3 separate regions of the Homo sapiens genome follow, and all the other regions are linked to region 1. The links are contacts of gene promoters, found by promoter capture Hi-C in blood cells and fetal thymus (Javierre and others, 2016). All regions are on one chromosome and are shown on one strand. The core of a region is centred on a gene start or on the middle of the fragment in contact, and the rest is flanking DNA. Distances in the headings are between cores, read along the strand shown.

What was found. The method cuts DNA at HindIII sites, captures the fragments that hold promoters and counts their contacts. A CHiCAGO score of 5 or more calls a contact.
Region 2: a contact is called between a fragment that was not itself captured here and the fragment with the promoter of CPN1 in region 1, in 9 of 17 cell types (total B cells, M0 macrophages, erythroblasts and 6 more). The highest score is 7.2, in total B cells.
Region 3: a fragment that was not itself captured here is called in contact with the fragment with the promoter of CPN1 in region 1 in 2 of 17 cell types (endothelial precursors and M1 macrophages); the score reaches 8.3 in endothelial precursors.

Annotation. Positions count from the first base shown.
Region 1 is chr10:100,079,724-100,084,158 of GRCh38, forward strand. CPN1 (carboxypeptidase N subunit 1) reads right to left here and starts at 2,146. Exons shown (of 9, transcript NM_001308.3): 1 at 1,680-2,146. The coding sequence starts at 1,902. The HindIII fragment of the contact is 7,883 bases long and covers 1-4,435 here.
Region 2 is chr10:99,833,475-99,837,909 of GRCh38, forward strand. ABCC2 (ATP binding cassette subfamily C member 2) reads left to right here. Exons shown (of 32, transcript NM_000392.5): 24 at 906-1,061; 25 at 2,617-2,816. Among named protein-coding and RNA genes, the nearest start is that of ABCC2, 53 kb to the left of the region's middle. RefSeq lists an enhancer at 493-1,692. The HindIII fragment of the contact is 2,011 bases long and covers 1,313-3,323 here.
Region 3 is chr10:99,855,647-99,860,081 of GRCh38, forward strand. No RefSeq gene overlaps it. Among named protein-coding and RNA genes, the nearest start is that of DNMBP-AS1, 69 kb to the right of the region's middle. The HindIII fragment of the contact is 2,513 bases long and covers 1,127-3,639 here.

The DNA of each region.
Region 1 (4,435 bases), core at 896-3,395:
TCAAGATTTAGGAAAATTTTTCTGGCATCTGTGTACCAAATGGAAGATTCAGAGTGCAGCAGTTCGAAGTTAGAGACCTGGCTGGGCACGGTGGCTCACGCCTGTAATCCCAACACTTTGGGAGGCCAAGGCGGGTGGATCACTTGAGGTCAGGAGTTTGAGACCAGCCTGGCCAACACGGTGAAACCCCGTCTCTACTAAAAATAAAAAAAATTAGCCAGGCATGGTAGTGCACGCCTGTAATCCCAGCTACTTGGGAGGCTGAGGCAGGAGAATTGCTTGAACCCGGGAGGTGGAGGTTTCAGTGAGCTGAGATTGCACCACTGCATTCCAGCCTGGGCAACAGAGTGAGACTCCATCTCAAAAAAAAAAAAAAATGAAGTTAGAAACCAGTTGGGAGTTCAGTGCAATCATGTAGGCAGCTTGTGATGGAGTCTGGACTTGGGCAGGGGATGTGGAAGCGAAGAGGTAAAGGGAGATTTGAAGTTGAGTTTGAAGGAGGAACTGGTAAGGAAAGAAGTGAGAAATTAGAAACAACTTAAATGTCCATCAATATATGGACAGTTAAACATAGTCATGCAATGAGCTATTACACAGCCAAAACCACAGTGATGTAGATCTGCACTTATAGACATGGATGCTATCCATAACAGATTGTGAAATGAGAAGGGCAGTTATAATACAATTTCATTTTTATAGAAACAATTACATGTGTTTGAGTCAGGGTTTAAATATGCATAGAAAAAAGTCTGGAAGGATATACATCAATACATTAACAGTGGTGGGATTTGGGGTGAGTTTTATTATTTTTTTTCCTTATCTAATCTCTAAATTTTAATCCAAACATGGATTGCTTTTACAGTAGAAACAAACTAAAAAAAGGAATCCAGGCTAAGTGCGGTGGCTCACGCCTGTAATCCCAACACTGGGAGGCCAAGGTGGGTGGATCGCCTGAGCCCAGGAGTTTGAGATTAGCCTGGTTAACATGATGAAACCCTGTCTCTACTAAAAATACAAAAATTAGCCGGGCGTATTGGTGCATGCCTGTGGTCCCAGCTACCTAGGAGGCTGAGGGGAAAGGATCACCTGAGCCCAGGAGGTGGAGGCTGCAGTGAGCTGAGATCATGCCACTGCATTCCAGCCTGGGCAACAGAGCCAGACCCCGTCTCAAAAAAATAAAAAATAAAAAAGAATCCAGTAAATAAAACTGACACCCAAGTCCCCAAACTCTCTCTGGAATACCACACTGTCACTCCCCGAAGAGATTCCCCTATACCCTTCTAAGTTTCCTGGCAGAACTAGAAGGGCTCATTGTTTTTGCCTATGTCTCCTGAGCCATTGGGTGGGGAAAGACAGAACAATAGTAAGGGGAAAAGAAAGGAAATGGGGGAAATGAAGGGATATGGGACATGAGCAGGGAAGAAGACTCATCTTTTACCATTAAAGTTTTGAGCAAACAGAACCCAAAAAGGAGGAAAGATCTGAAGGCTGAAGGAGGGTTATAGCTCCCCAGAGGCAGTGGCAGTTTGAGGGCTAAGAGGGAAATAGCACAGGCTGAGAAAGAGATAATACCTTGTAGGCGGAGGCGTCCACGGACCACCCCAGAAACCACTCCAATTACTGGATTTGCAAGGGAAAGGCCCTGCCCCACACACCCTCAAGAGCTGTTCAGAACTTACAGGGCTCGTGGATTCCAGGGTGGTCGCTGAACTCCAGCACGTAGAGGTGTCTCCCCTCCACGCTGCGCCCAATGCTGTAGACCCGCGTGATGCCGGGGCATTCGTTTTGCACCTTGTACAGCGTCCGCACAAGATCATCATAGCGGTGGTGGCGAAAGGTCACCGGGGCAACCAACTTGAAGAGAAGGAGGAGGTGGAGGAAGACTGAGAGCAGGTCTGACATCTTGCTGGGCTTTTTCAAAGAGAGCCACTGAAACGCGCCCCACCTCCTTAAACAACCTAGCCTCTTCACCCGCCAAAATCCAAGGTCCACCTAGCTTCCCGCTTGTAAACACCAGTCCAAATTGGAAGACGTTCCCAGCTGTCCGTCCAAGGCTGGAAATTCTTTATGTCGTTCTGGAATAGCCACTCATCTCTCCTCCCTCACTCCCTTTCTTTCTCTAATCCAGGAAAGCCTTTTGAAAGGTTTTTTGCACTTCCCCAGATGGGTAGTTTCACTGATTCTGGTTTACTGGTTAACTGGACTGTAAACAGGCTTCAATAAATAGCTGCTTATAACCCTTTGATTCCTGGAGAATTTTTTAAAACTTGGCCTGTGCCTGTTCCTTTTATTACAACTTTCAAAAAGAGTTCTCTGTCCCTTTTGATCCATCCCACGTACTGCTGCCTGCCTATCTTTCTGAAGCATGGCTGTATTTTGTCCTTTTTTTCCTCAAAAATCTTTCAACAGATGCCATTAAGAAAAGGAAAAGATTAGCCTCGGACTGGGAGAAAACAATTGTAAATCATGTATCCGATAATACCCCCATAATACGTAAAGAATCCTTACAATACAATAAGAAAACAAACAACCCAATTAAAACATGGGCAAAACATTTGACCAAAATAGATATACAAATGGCTAATAAGCACATTTAAAGATGTTCAGTGTCATTAGTCATTAAGGAAATACAAATTAAAACCACATGAGATCCAGTCATGGTGGCTCATGCCTATAATCTCAGCACTTTGGGAGGCCAAATTGGGAGGATCACTTGAGCCCAGGAGTTTGAGATCAGCCTGGGCAACATAGCAAGACCCCACCTCTACAAATATTTTTAAAATTAGCTGGGTGTGATGGCATGCCTGTAGTTCCAGCTACTAGGGAGGCTGAGGCAGAGAATCACTTGAACCTGGGTGGTGGGGCCTGAAGTGAGCCATGATCATGCCACTACACTCCAGCCTGGGCAACAGAGTGAGACCTCATCTCAAAAAACAAACAAACAAAAATCACACATGAAATATACTTTACCTCCACTAGAATGGCTACAATAAAAAAGACAGACAATAACAAATGTTGGTGAGAATAGGGAGAAACTGGAACCCTCATAAATAGTGCAGCCAGACCAGGTGCAGTGGCTCATGCCTGTAGCCCAGGACTTTGAGAGGCCGAGGCAGGTGGATCACGAGGTCAAGAGATCGAGATCATCCTGGCAAACATGGCAAAACCCCCTCTCTACTAAAAATACAAAAATTAGCTGGGCATGGTGGCACACGCCTGTAGTCCCAGCTACTCAGGAGTCTGAGGCAGGAGAATTGCTTGAACCTGAGAGGAGGAGGTTGCAGTGAGCTGAGATCACGCCACTGCACTCCAGCTTGGTGACAGAGCGAGACTCCATCTCAAAAAAAATAAAAAATAAAGATAAACAAATAAATAGTACAGCCAGTTTGGAAAACAGTTTAGCAGTTTCTTACAAGGTTAAATATATACTTACTATATAATACAACAGTTTCACTCCTAGGTACCTATGCAAGAGAAATGAAAACACACATCCACACAAAAACTTGTACATAAATGTCCATAGCAGTATTGTTCACAAGAGACAAAAAGTGGAAACAACCCAAATGTCCATTAACCACTGAGCGGATAAACAAAATATGGCATATCCATACAATGAAATAGTATTTGACAATAAAAAGGAGTGGAGTGCTAATATATTGTACAATGTGAATGAATCTTACACATGCCTGGTAAAAGAAGCCAGACCCAAAACACCACAAGTGGACACAAAATTTCTTTTTAGAGTGATAGAAATGTTCTAAAATTAGATTGTGGTGATGGTGATGTCTATACAACTCGATAAATATACTAAAATTCATTGAATTGCATACTTAAAACAGATGAATTCTATGATATGCAAATTGTATCTCAATAAAGCTGTTTTTAAAAGGGAATAAAAAATAAGTACAGCCCTCTGAAAGAATTAAATATAAATTTACCATACAACTCAACAATTCCATTCCTGGGTATGTACCCAATAGAACAAACTTGCCCACAGAATGTTCACAGCAGCATTATTCATAATAGGCAAAAAGTAGAAACTACCTAAATGTCTATCAACTGGTGAATAAATAAAATATGATATAACCATACAATTGAACACTATTCAGCAAAAAAAAGAATAAAATGCGACTACATGCTACAATGTGGATGAACTTCAAAAACACTATGCAAAGTGAAAGAAGCCAGACATGAAAAAAACACATAATGTATAATTCCATTTATATGAAATGTCCTGCAAAGGTAAACCTATAGAGACAGAAGGTAAAATAATGTTCCCCTGAGGTTGGGGATGGGAATGGAAATTAACTGTAAATGGGCATGAGGGATTTATTTTCTAACGGATGAATCAGCCACTCAAACTGGATCCAAGGAAGATCTTATTGGAGTGATGGAGATGTTCTAGAACTGGGTGATGGTAATAGTTGGTCAGCTT
Region 2 (4,435 bases), core at 1,068-3,567, 250 kb before region 1:
GGAGTTTGATCAAGGGGCCTCTGGGATCAATGGCTGAGTTAAGAGGAGATGGAGTGGAGGAAGGAAAGATGGAGACTCTGTGCCAGGTAAGGATCAAAAGTAATCTGCATAGAACTGATAACTGGTAGGGATTTCTTTTCTCTGCCAACTGTGGGTATAGTTATTTGCATTCTGATAGGACTTTGGGAAAGGTAGGTTAGACTCAGGAGTCATCCATGATTCAGAGCTTTCCTGGAAGACCATTATCCCTGATACAGTTTGAGAAATTCCAGAGATAACTTAAACTCACTTTGGTACTCACATATTACCAATCATAGAATCAATATAATCCCCACAAATTTAGGCAAGGGCAACCCAAAATATAAACCAAGCTTCTTGAGTGTTCTCCAAACCATCCATCCATTCATTCATTTTTCTTATTTGTTCATTTATTTCACATGACACGAAGGCAACATGGCAGTAAGACACATCTGTTCCCGCTGGGTTCCTTGGTTAGAACACTGTCCAGGCAGGCTCACATTCAACCCCAGCTCCCTTCCCCTTGGTCCTCTATGCTTAGCAGAGGAAGCAACTTCCTGAGTATTTTTAGTAGAGATGGGATTTCACCATGTTGGTCAGGCTGGTCTTGAACTCCCGATCTCAGGTGATCCACCCGCCTCGGCCTTGCAAAGTGCTGGGATTACAGGTGTGACCACCACGCCAGGCCTAAATGAAGAAATTATGGAAATGAAATTGGTTATTGGGGCAAGCAATGCAGCCTATTGCAAATGAACACAATGAAATGATTACATGAAGGAGTACTGGGAACACACAGAATCCAACAGATTCCTTGCTAGAACTAGGAAGATGTAAACTATCTTAGGAAGACCTCAGTGATGGTGTATCTCTCCTAATCGTTTTCCTAGGATATTTCCACAGTGGATGACACCCTGCCTCAGTCCTTGCGCAGCTGGATTACATGCTTCCTGGGGATAATCAGCACCCTTGTCATGATCTGCATGGCCACTCCTGTCTTCACCATCATCGTCATTCCTCTTGGCATTATTTATGTATCTGTTCAGGTAGGTTTGGAAATGGCTAAGTCATCCTTCCTTCCTCTCTATCTATAAAAGCCCAGCCTCTTTCCTGAGAATCTTCTCTCTGATTCATTGCTAGTCACTCACTCCTCCCCTCAGCAGCTTTGCCATTTAGTCATATGTTGACATACCCAGGAGCCCACAGGCCACTGTCTGAAGCTGAAGTGAGAGCATCAATGGGTGCACCATTTATGGCAAATGTCACCCTAACTGCTGCCCACCCTTCACTCCCTGGAAGCTTAGGTCGGACAGATTTACGTTTGGATCCAAGACTACTTTGAGATTGGCTCTGGACACAGTCTTGCAGCTCCATAAGAACCCCCATGACGATTAGGTCGGTTCCAGAAGAGCCATGCTATGGTGCTTCCTTGGTTGACTTTGGACAGGCATAGCTGCTTGGAGATGTCTCTCAGCAGCAGCTGGGTCTTTCTTTTTACTTCGGCAAAGTTCTAGTTTCACTGGGGTGTCTGTGGGTGGTTTAGGCTCAATTCCAGTGTATTCTTCGAGGGAATGTGCAGCTTGAAAGCAAAACAGGGAAACTGGAACGAGTGGAAGGAACCCTATTCCCACAATAAAATGGATGAGGGAAGGGGAGGCTGTGGAGGAACTCTGGTCCCACCAGCTGCTTTTGTGGTGAATTGTTTGCCTGGGGAAACAATTCTGAAGACACTGATCAGGGGCTCGTGGCCTTGTGGCCTGCGATTGGCGGCTCGCCCCCATGTCCGTGTACAGTTCCTCAGGCACATTGTCACCATAGCGGCCTTTTAACTATTAATAACAAGCCAACAAACAAGAAGCAGGGTTATTGGAGGGAACATCTGTATGTCCATGTATAACATTTTGCATCCCGTCTCTCCAACGCCCCACTCTTCCCAGGTTTCAACAAATCCTCACAGAATCTAGTAGCAGCACGGACCCATTCCACTCCCCCTTGCCCTCAGGCCACAGGGTTCTTCCCTGCATTGGATTCTACCCTGTTCCAGTTCTTACCCCCTCAGCACTCTGCATACCTCCAGAATTCTCTGTACCTTCACACACCACCGAGGCACAGTTTTGGTCACTTAATTGAACAGATTCTTCCCTTTTTACCCAAACCTAGGCATGCCTTTTTCTGGCCATTTCCTGCCCATCCCCACTTTACACACCCCACGGGCCCCACTGCCTTTACAAAATCCTTTTGGGGACCTTTTCTCTAATGAGTACAGAAACTGTCACATGGATGATAGCCGTAGATCTGGGGGATATGGGTTAGGCTGACGGAACTCCTTAGGAGGTTTGGAGACTCAAAGCTCTGAGGCTGCAGTGTGCTCTCCTCACGTTCACCCCACTCTGTTCCCCACCAACCCCAGTCTTCTCATTGGTCTCCTCCTCGGAGCCTCTCATCATTCTGCTCCCAGACATGGCACTGCAGGCTTTTGTCTTGTTCAGACGTAAGCTGTGCCCATCAAGGGGAAGAATGCTGGGTTGTGGCCAGAAAGGAGGAAGATGGTGGATGCCTCATGACTGCGGGACTGGCTGATTCTTTACTTTTTGTGTCCAGATGTTTTATGTGTCTACCTCCCGCCAGCTGAGGCGTCTGGACTCTGTCACCAGGTCCCCAATCTACTCTCACTTCAGCGAGACCGTATCAGGTTTGCCAGTTATCCGTGCCTTTGAGCACCAGCAGCGATTTCTGAAACACAATGAGGTGAGGATTGACACCAACCAGAAATGTGTCTTTTCCTGGATCACCTCCAACAGGTGAGGCTTCCCCTGGGTATTTACCCATGTGTGTACTTTGGGGTTCTATATGTTTGATATTAGCGGTGGGAGGGCAGGCATGGCTAGTGGTGTGAAATTCACTCTGGCCACACACACTGTCATGCTATGTAAGTGGAGAGAAGAAAGCATGAGCTTTGGAGTCAGAGACTGGGTCCCCATGACAGCTCTGCCGTTTACCAAGCTGGGTGAATTGCCTTGACTTCTCTAAGGAGAATCTCCATTTCTTTGTTTTTGTAATGGCCAGAACACACCCTATCTCACAGGGTTCCACCTGTCTCATGGTGGAAGTCAAATGACATTTGTGAGCATTTTGTAACCCAGTACCAAATAAGTGCTGGGTGAACTGAACATCCTCTGTTTACTTTTCTGAGAACGGATGTGAGATTCTCCATAGTCATGACACTCTTTCTGGGTAGTGAAGGCAGTGGAGGTTGGAGAGAGGAGAGTTGGGAATTTTTAGGTAAGACCATTGATGACAGAAAGGGAAGCTTCCGTCTTGTGAACAGGGTGAGCATTATTCTCCAGTATCCTTAAGCCCTGGCAAGCAGTATGTCCTGGAAAGAGGAAGATCTTTTTCAGGAAGAAAAATTCTTGAGTGGCTTCCAAAGTGTCTTGAGGCGCTAAAGATGCTCAGCATTATTTGGAATGTGGACAGGTCAGGAGTTTGATTGTAAAGATATTTTATTTCTTAGAGACTTTCTAAGAAGGAAAAGGCATATAAGTAAATCTTATTAGACCTTCACTGTAAAGGACATATCATATTTATTCATACACATGCTGGAATTATTGGTGCAGACATTTAAATACATTTTCTTTGAGAAAGTCCTTTTTTTTTTTTTTTTTGATGGAGTTTCCCTCTTGTTGCCCAGGCTGGAGTGCAATGGTGCAATCTCAGCTCACAACAACCTCTGCCTCCTGGGTTCAAGCAATTCTCCTGCCTCAGCCTCCCAAGTAGCTGGGATTACAGGCATGCACCACCACGCCCAGCTAATTTTTTTTATTTTTAGTAGAGACGGGGTTTCTCCGTGTTGGTCAGGCTGGTCTTGAACTCCTGATCTCAGGTGATCTGCCCACCTTGGCCTGCCACAGTGCTGGGATTACAGTCGTGAGCCACCACAGCTGGCCTGGGAAAGTCCATTCTTTTTTTTCTTTTTTTTTTTTTTTTTAAATTTATTTTTTTATTGATAATTCTTGGGTGTTTCTCACAGAGGGGGATTTGGCAGGGTCATGGGACAATAGTGGAGGGAAGGTCAGCAGATAAACAAGTGAACAAAGGTCTCTGGTTTTCCTAGGCAGAGGACCCCGCGGCCTTCCGCAGTGTTTGTGTCCCTGATTACTTGAGATTAGGGATTGGTGATGACTCTTAACGAGCATGCTGCCTTCAAGCATCTGTTTAACAAAGCACATCTTGCACTGCCCTTAATCCATTTAACCCTGAGTGGACACAGCACATGTTTCAGAGAGCACAGGGTTGGGGGTAAGGTCACAGATCAACAGGATCCCAAGGCAGAGGAATTTTTCTTAGTGCAGAACAAAATGAAAAGTCTCCCATGTCTACTTCTTTCTACACAGACACGGCAACCATCCGATTTCTCAAT
Region 3 (4,435 bases), core at 1,133-3,632, 220 kb before region 1:
GTTCGAAAATACCATAAGTAGGCCAGGCACAGTGACTCACACCTGCAATCCCAGCACTTTGGGAGGCCTAGGCAGGCCGGAATGCTTGAGCGCAGGAGTTCGAGACCAGCCTGAGCAACAAAGTAAGACCCCGTTTCTATAAATAAATAAAAAAAAATACAGAAAGTTAGCCAGGTGTAGTAGTGCATGCCTGTAGTCCCAGCTACTCAGGAGGCTGAAGTGGAAGGATCGCTTGAGCCCAGGAAGTCGAGGTTGCAGTGAGCTGAGATCACACCACTCCATTCCAGCCTGGGTGACAGAGTGGGACTCTGTCTCCAAAAAAAAAAAAAAGAAAACATCATAAGTAAAAGATTGTAAAAATGCATAAAACAATTGGCTGTAAAAAGCACTCCATTGTCATAGCCCTCCTTTTAATTTCATATGCAAGTAGTTAGTTATGCTGTAGAATTTAACTGTTACAATATAAAAAGCAACTATTTATGGAAAAAGTAGAAAAAAGGAGAAAATGGCCAGGTGCAGTGGCTCACACCTGTAATCCCAACACTTTGGGAGGCTAGGCAGGAGGATCATTTGAGCTCAGGAGTTCAAGACCAGACTGGGAATATATGTATGGCAGTGTTTCTTTAAGGTAAATGAACATAAAAATAGAGTTTCAGGAAGAGAAGAAAAACTAGGCTAGTTTGGTTCTTACTGAATTTTGAAAATGAACTACAATAGAGCTCCTTCTTCAATTCTAACAATCAAGGCCTTGGTCACCATATTGGTAATCTCTTGATTAATCCTCTTGATTCTCACTTGATTTCCATCTGGCGATTATGCCTGACAAACACTATCACGGATTTCGGATCCATCTGCCCTGTTCCTTGGCAGCCATCTTTGGGACAATTACTTGCTGCTCAAGCCTGGAGACCAGGGTTGTCCAATCTTTTGGCCTCCCTGGGCCACACTGGAAGAAGAATTGTCTTGGGCCACATATAAAATACACTAACACTAATGATAGCTGATAAGCTAAAAAAAAAAAAATCGCAAAAAAAATCTGATTATGTTTTAAGAAAGTTTACAAATTTGTGGTGGGCCACATTGAAAGCCATGGGCCACATGCGGCCCACAGGCCATGGGCTGGACAAGCTTGCTATAGACACTCGTTCTTCTCTGGGAAACAACTTGGTTGTCAGAAGATTGTGGATAGCACTGGTTGTACTATTAGCTCTGGTCACAGGTATTGCTCTTGATACCTGGTGCTAAACAATAGCTTTGCCTGGCTGCTTCTTTTTTAGTGCTCATCTGCGGACACCTGTGGTCTGGTTTGTCAGGGTTTGCATTCTGGTAATATAAAGGTAGCTTCTGGTATAATAAATATTTGCCTGGTTGACACAATTATTAGGTCCAATCTGTAAACCAATTACTCTTTGGCCAGCTTTTCATTGTCCTTAATCCAACAGTCTAATTTCTCTGCAAACTTGACTCCAATGTTAATGGTTGAACAGAATTCTTTTATTTTAGTTGGACCTAGAGTAGGGGTATGGCTCTAGGGCCAAATTTGCCCTGCTACCTGTTTTTGCACATAAAGTTTTACTGGAACACATCCATGCTCCTTTGTTTCTTTGCCATCTGTGCCTGCTTTCATGTTACAATACAGAGTTGAGGAATTGGCCCACAAAGCCTAAAATATTTACTATCTGGCCCTTTAAGAACAGGTTTGCTGACCACTGCTCTAGAGCCACCAATGTAGCCTGGACTGGGTCACGATTCCATGCTCAAAAAGACTATTTGCTGGCCGGGCGCGGTGGCTGACGCCTGTAATCCCAGCACTTTGGGAGGCTGAGGTGGGCGGATCACCTGAGGTCAGGAGTTCAAGATCAGCCTGACCAACATGGAGAAACCCCGCCTCTACTAAAAATACAAAAAATTAGTCGGGCATGGTGGTGCATGCCTGTAACTCCAGCTACTCGGGAGGCTGAGGCAGGAGAATCACTTGAACCCGGGAGGCGGAGGTTGCCGTGAGCTGAGATTGTGCCATTGCGCTCCAGCCTGGGCAACAAGAGCAAAATCTGTCTCAAAAAAAAAACAAAACAAAACTATTTGCCTTTAAAATGTCATGTGGCTTCACACCTGTGATAGAATAATGGTCCTCAAAAATGTCCACATCCTAATCCTCAAAGCCTGTGAATATGCCACCTTCCCTGGAAAAAAGGACTTTCACTGATGTGATTAAGTTAAGGGTCTTCAGATGGGGAGAGCACCGTGGATTGGCCAGGTGGGCTCAATGTAAACACAGCGTTCTTATAAAAGAGGCAGGACAGTCGGAGTGAGAGCGTGCTGCGATGACGGACGGAGTGAGACAGTTGAAGGTGCCACGCTGCTGGCTTTGAAGATGGAGGGAGTGGCCGCAAGCCAGGATATGCAGACCTTAGGAATCGGAAAAGGTAAGGAAATGAATTCTCCCCTGGAGCATCCATGAGGAACCAGCCCTGCCAACACCTTGACTTTAGCCCGGTGAGACTAATTTTGAATTCTGACCTCCAGAATGCTGAGATAAATTTGTTTTCAGCCACTAAATTTGTGGTAACTTGTTCCAGCAATAGGAAACTAATAAAAGTAAGCCCAGGTAGCTGTGATAAAACTGCCACAGTTCTTCAGCTAAAGTCAGTTTAATGACAATTCATGGATCTTCTTCATTAAATCCCACTGTAGTTTGAGTATGTAGAGGGTCATGCTGCCTTTTAAGCCCAGCTAAAAGTTGGTTGCAATACTCGTGCCTGGCATCCCTTCTATCAAATTGCAAAAATCTTATTCAGTTTGAACAGAGTTGCGGGTATTTTCTTGGTCTCAACTGAAGGCTGTAGTGAGGGCTCTTGTCAAAGTGAGTCCTGTTTTTGACGACAGCAGATTGAGAATTTCTCACCCTCAGCTTTCCTAATTCTGGACCTCTGGGGTGGTTGCTGTGAGAAATGCTTGGTGAGATGCCGAGGTGTGGTGGTTCACAGGCATTGCTGTGTGCCGTGGTCCTGCTCCGTCTAAGGACCTGTCAGGGTGGCTGCAGGGTCTCACCCACCTGACTGCTCCCCAGAAATGTTTCCAGAATGAATACATTGCCGAGACTCTAACCAGAGGCTTGCTCCCTTCCACCACCACCCCACAGCCTATCGCTGGGAAGGCACTAATTCTGCCCCTCTCTGCTTGAGGGTCATCTCTTGAGTGTTAAGGCGTAGGTATCCCTATGTAGCTTGCAAAATCTGCAACTTGTGGAAAACTCCTTTCTTGACATATGTAAAATACTAATGCTGACCTGCACCAACAATTGCAGCAAAGTTCTAGCAGAGGCTGTGGGACATAAGCCAGGGGCTCAGACAGATCGGAGTCCACTGCCCCTGCTCTGAAGCACTGGGTGATCTGCTACACATGGCAAAGGTAAAACCGTGAAGACTTCAGCAGTATCATGTACCACCAGGCGGGAGAGTTTAATGCCCCGTGAGTTATGTGGCGACCAGAGAGGGGATTTAGCATGAAGTATTTAAAGCTGGAGGTTTCTCGGTCCTCAAGCATAAGGTTCTGCAAATGAAACACAGTTCAGAGCACAACTGTTAAGGCCCGTTTGTACTCCTGACCCTGAACTAACACCCTCATCAACAGAATCCAAGCTTCACAATTAACTAAAATGGGGTGACACAAAATTCAATCCTTATTGAAACTGAGCTCCTCTGGAGCTCACATTTCATGAAAGTTTGTGGACATCATCTCACTGGATTCTCACATCTCATTGGATCTGTTCCTGAGAGGAAGAGATATCTATACACAATAATCAGAGGGGAGGCCCCATATCTATGTTTACACGATAGGTTCCCACCATCAGTCCCTGTCGTGGGACTCGTGGATGAAAGCACAACTGAAGAGCTATTTCCAGACAGAAGGGGAGAAAAATCAGGAGGTAAGCCAGCAAGCTGGATTTAAGAATTTTCTTTGACATTTCCTTCTAGAGTGTCTGAAACATCTGACACCCTCTCCTTCCTTGGTTTTTGTAAATTCTGCTTTTCTGACAGCAAAAAGTCCTACTTTAAAAAGTTGTCTAAACAGGTGCTTCTCAAACTTTAATGTGCACACAAGTCACCTGAGGATCTTGTTAAAATAGACTTTGATTCAGTAATGCTGTGGAGGTGGGCCCCTTGCAGTTCCAGCGAGCTCACAGGTGGTGGCGATGGCAATGCTGCCGGCCTAGAGACCACTTTTTTTTTTTTTTAAGAGGTGGGTTCGGGTAGGGCTGGGCACGGTGGCTCACACCTATAATCCCAGCACTTTGGGAGGCCAAGGCAGGCAGATCACCTGAGGTCAGGAGTTAGAGACCAGCCTAACCATCATGGGGAAACCCTGTCTCTACTGAAAATACAAAATTAGCCAGGCGTGGTGGCACATGCCTGTAATCCCAGCTACTCGGGAG